2 separate regions of the Homo sapiens genome follow, and region 2 is linked to region 1. The links are contacts of gene promoters, found by promoter capture Hi-C in human tissues and cell types (Jung and others, 2019). All regions are on one chromosome and are shown on one strand. Each heading gives the region's core, a stretch centred on a gene start or on the middle of the fragment in contact. The rest is flanking DNA. Distances are from core to core; before and after follow the strand shown.

What was found. The method cuts DNA at HindIII sites, captures the fragments that hold promoters and counts their contacts. A contact is called where the count stands out against the background at its distance.
Region 2: a fragment that was not itself captured here is called in contact with the fragment with the promoter of CASQ2 in region 1 in 1 of the 25 tissues and cell types used here (adrenal gland).

The regions. Positions count from the first base shown.
Region 1 is chr1:115,767,407-115,770,050 of GRCh38, forward strand. It overlaps CASQ2 (calsequestrin 2), which reads right to left and starts at 1,308. Exons shown (of 11, transcript NM_001232.4): 1 at 902-1,308. The coding sequence starts at 1,135. The HindIII fragment of the contact is 10,019 bases long and covers 1-2,644 here.
Region 2 is chr1:114,711,058-114,713,701 of GRCh38, forward strand. All of the region lies in intron 3 of NRAS (NRAS proto-oncogene, GTPase), which reads right to left. Among named protein-coding and RNA genes, the nearest start is that of NRAS, 4.4 kb to the right of the region's middle. The HindIII fragment of the contact is 7,324 bases long and covers 1-2,644 here.

The sequences.
Region 1 (2,644 bases), core at 58-2,557:
TAAACTATTTCATCAACCTGAGTTCTCTGATTGTGCTGGTTAATAAACTGTAATTCTCAAATATCCCTTTCACAGGTTTGCGCCTGGGCTAGGCGTGGAGACTGATGAGGCATCTTGGTGCCCACTAGCATTCTTGGCACCCTCAGGCCCTCTTAAAGTGTAAGCCATCTTAAGCTGTCCAGGAGGAGCTGCAGGAATAGTTTCTGGGGCACTCGCAAAGGATTAGAAAATGGGCCCCAGTGCCAGGTTACAAACAGGCAGGCCATGTAATGCGGATAAAATAAGAACTGACTTCAGCTCTGCCCTAAAGTCACACCAAGAACTTTCTGAGAAAAAAAATCACATAAATGAATATGCTGCTCAGAAGATCTGCACACAACTACATTCTGTAATGCTGACTGACGCAAAACAAGAGAGAGGAAAGTCATTTAGTGATATTCTCCGTCTGACCCCCAGAGAGACGCAAGGTCAAGTAACTCTGGTCTCTCCAGGATCATGGGGAGATTTGAGGGAGCAAAGTGGGCACACTGAATGAAATCCACAAGTAGTCCCTGGATTTCATTTCAGCCAACAGTTTTAACAATAGTTTCTACATTCTATCTGGGAAACAATGGCTGGGACAAGGGCCCTTGAAAAGTCAAGGGGGCCATAAAGACTTTACATCAGACCCATCGTAGTGTAGCACGTTTGGTCCTCTTCATTTGAAGAGTTAGGACCCACCCCTCATTGTTCACACATCCCAGCTGTGTGACAAGGGCATCTGATTCACGTGAGGCCAAAATAAAGCAGAGTTCAGTATATATTCTCTGCATCCTCGTTCCCATATCCCAACCCCTGGCCAAAGGCATTCCCTCGGCACCTCACTGAGGCAGCGCAGACAGCATGCCCTTTGGTTACTTACCTCAAGCACGATTTCTTTCAGTTGGAACTGTTTTTGCGTGACCTTATCTGAAGACACCGGCTCATGGTAGTAGAGGCAAAGCAAGTCATATTTCTTTAAAACCTGCTTGAAGTTCTTCTCGGAAAGACTTACCACTCGGTCCTTCCCATCATATGTGGGGAAATTAAGCCCCTCTTCTGCCCTGCAAGAGGACAGAAAATAAATCCCCACAATAAACAAGTGAGTTCTCTTCATTTGGGAAAACTTTTGTTTCTCGTTCCCAAATATGCTGTGTGCAGAATAGAGGACAGAAGACTGTTAGAGGCCTTGTTGAGCCAAGGAGAGAGCAGACAGGCTGATTTTCTCTCTTCTTTGCCCTTCCTGGGGCTGAAAAGTGACTCTTCACCTCCTTGGGTCCAGCCAGCTCTGGAATCGTGGGCTCAGGACAAAGAGCAGAGGCACACACACACACACACGCACGCACGCACGCACGCATGAGAGTAGAAAAACAGCCAAGCTAGGGAGGCTGGGAGGCCAAGCCCCAGATACCTTACATAGCTCTGCTCAGCCTCTGTCTCATTAGGAACTCCATTTTTAGGATGCAGTTGTTTCAGGCTAAAAATAAATCATGCAATGAATAAAAAAGTTAGATACGACACTGTAGAGGGATTCGCTGATACAGTCTGTCCGACTGGTGAAGAGGGAAGAGGCAGAAGGAAAAAGACAAGAATGTACACGCATGAAATAAGGAGGCTAGAAAGGTCAAAGAAGAGAAAGAAACTCGAGAGGGAGAGAGATAAGGGACTATGGTGCCAATAAGCAAATGGAGAGTTCAAACATACGGAATGACACTCATACATTACTGAATTGTTAAATCACCCCAGGGTGGTAACTCAGCCTGTCCCCTCACGGTGGTTGTTCATCCTCTGTTCCTCACTGCAACATGGAACAAAATGGAGCCCCGAGGTAGACTTCTTCATGTTCTACTCCTGTCTTTTTCTGCCTTCCCTCCTCTCTTCTTAAAAATCCTCTGCCAGCCACTGGGCGAGGGGTGCAGGGACACCCTGCTGAACCCAGCTGACACCAGAAGAACCTGTCCTCATTAAACTAAAATGAAACAAGGTTCACAGTTCAAATCCCTACTCTGCCTTTTAACAGCTAATGAACTTTGGAGGGTCACTTGCCCTCTCTGATTCTCAGTTCCCCTCTATGTAAAGTGGGGCTGATAATAACCATAAAGTTTCAAACACATAGATGAAAAAGCATGGCACAAAATAGGTGCTCAAAAATAGTAGCTATTATACTTACTTCTCATTGGAGCTGGTGGAACATTGGTTATATAATGGATATTTGTCTGTTTCTAATATGAATGGTTTGTGAACCCTTTCTTGTCCATTTTCTCCTTGAATCCAGTAGGCAATTGGGGCAAAAGGGATCAGGGCTCATCCTACCGCTGAGCTAACAGCAACTTGTCTGAGTTTGCAGCATTTCTAACTGCCGGAGCAAGAATCCAACCCTGCCTCAAAGCTGCTGCTCCTGGCTGTTTTGCCTCTGACTCTGGGTGATTCCCTTGCAGACACCCCTTTTCTTAAGTACCTTCTTGACCATCTCTTCCAGTCCAACCCTAGTCCAGTCATGTCTCTCCACTCTTCAAAGGCATCTAGGGCATTCATGATTCTGACCAAGTTTTTGTTCTCCTTCAGTTATAAATCAGCTTTGGAAAGACAGAGTACTCTGTCATGCACAGCTTCTGCAGGGGCTAGA
Region 2 (2,644 bases), core at 105-2,604, 1.1 Mb before region 1:
ACTCTAGGAGATTGAGGTGGGAGGATCACTTGACCTAGGAGTCCGAGACCAGCCTGGGCAACATGGTGAAACCTTGCTTCTACAAAAAATACAAAAATTAGCTGGGCATGGTGGCACATGTGCCTGTGGTTCCAGCTACTCAGGAAGCTGAGGTGGGAGGATCCCTTGATCCCTGAGAGGTTGAACCCTGAGAGTGTCATGCCACCGCACTCTGGCTTGGGCAACAGAGGGAGACTCCATCTCTAAAAAACTAAAACAGGCCGGGCACGGTGGTTCACACCTGTAATCCCAGCCCTCTGGGAGGCCGAGGCGGGTGGATCACCTGAGGTCAGGAGTTTGAAACCAGCCCGGCCAACATGGTGAAACCCCAAGTCTACTAAAAATACAAAAAAAATTAGTCAGGCATGGTGGTGGACGCCTGTAATTCCAGCTACTCGGGAAGCTGAGGCAGGAGAATCTCTCGAACCCGGGAGGCGGAGGTTGCAGTGAGCCGCGATCGCACCACCGTACTCCATCCAGCTTGGGCAACCAGAGCAAAACTCCGTCTCAAAAAAAAAAAAACAAACAAACAAAAAAAACAAACCTAAAACAAAACATTGTATCTGGAAGCCCAAGCGATAAAATAGAAAACATAAGAACTGCTCTTAGTAAAGGGAGGCTGAAGCATCTAGAACTCCTGACAGCACCCCTTTCAATGACATGTAAGGCACACCACACAGCACACCTGGGAAACAATTGCTTTAGATTGTCTTGACCAACACAATCCAACAGTACTTTATGTGATGATGGAAATGGTCTATATCTGTACTGTTCAACATGGTACCTACTAGTGGCTATTGAGCATTTGGTAGTCAAGGAACTAATTTTTAAATTTTATTTAATCTTAATTAACTGTAAATAACCACATACTGCACAGTACTGTTTTAGTCTCTACCCCTGGATTACCCACAAAGTCATGTATCTGAACTACATTCCACTGGCTATTTGCAAAACTGTGCTTGATGGTAATAGCCTACATTAAGGGATAAGACAGCCTAAAGTACCTGGACCATGTCACTGTCAGGTTACTACTGATTTTTACATTAAACAAGCCTCTTTGAGGATCCATGGGAAAATTTCCTTCTAGTCCGAGCAACTTAACGGCTTTCAGCATACAGATACTGAATCTTTCAGCTGGCTACTTTCCTTTTCACAACAGTGACCAAATTTGTAGTCCACCTTTAGAAAGCCACTGGAACTTCATGCACAATCACAGAATATGCTCACTCCTAAATTTGTTTATTTTACCCTTATTTTTTTGGTCTCACTTAAGCCTATTTTTCATTAATCTTATCTTGCTCTACTATATGCATTTTCATAAGATGTTTTAAATACTCTTTGGTTTGAGCTAAGGCATATAGAAAAATGAATAAATTTCTTGTAAGAAAGAAGAAAAATGACTTCTAGAAATTCAAAAAACATTTATTAGATGCATGCCAAGTGTGGGCATTTTATTAAGTACTGCTATTACTTTTAGACAAAAAAAAAATGGGAAGTACAACAGGTTAGGAAAAGAACACTTGAATTCAGTGTTGGACCAATCTGCTTTTGAGAGCAGACATCTTCACATGGATAGAAAATAAGCCAAGACTCAAGCCTTTAGGCAGAACACTTAAGTAGCATTTACTGTGTGCCAGGCACTATTCTGAGTGATTTGCGTATTTATTAAAACTGTAATCTTCACAACTCTATGAGGTAGGTATTATTATTTCCATATTATAGGTTAGGAAAGCCACATAGCCCCTGAGTCACGTCGCTAATAAACAGAGCTAGGTTTCAATCCAGGCAGAGTTCTCATTCTTAACCATTATATTATTCTGTTTAAGAACACTGTGCTAAGAAAAAGGAGCTTTGGGTTTTTGGTCCTGGCTCTGCTACTAATAACAATCCTGACTCCAAAACCTAACAAACGACATTCTGAACTCTGTTTCTGATTCTGCAAAATAAGAATATTGTACTAGAATTTTTATGGTCCAATCTAGCTTTGAAACTTTATGGTTCTATGGACAAAGTCTATCTTTATGTTCCCTTGCTTTGTTTTCATCTTTATGGACTTCCTATTTGCTTACTCCTATCATTTTATTTTTTATTTTTTTTGGAGACAGAATCTTGCTCTGTTGATTAGGCTGGAGTGCAGCAGTGCAGTGGAGTGAGCATGCCTCGACCTCCTGAGCTCACGTGATCCTCCCACCTCTGCCTCCCGAGTAGCTGCCACCATGTGTGACTAATTTTTTTATTTTTATTTTTGTAGAGACAGGGTCTTGCTCTGTTGCCCAGGCTGGTCTCCAACTCCTGGGCTGAAAGTGATCCTCCCGCCTTGGCCTCCCAAAGCACTGACATTCCAGGTGTGAGCCACTGTGCCTGGCCTATCTTTTCCATTACATACTGAAAGATGTTTCTTGGAGATGTTTTCCTCTCTGAAATTCCTTCGTGATCTCTAATTACAACAACTCTGGTTCCAAGTCATTCCCAGTAGCAAGCTTCACTTATGTATTATCAAACTTTATAGTAACAGTATATTATGTAAAATAAATTCCAGTATTAACTTTCAGTAATTACCCTAGATTCTCAATGTCAAACAACCTAAAACCAACTCTTCCCATAA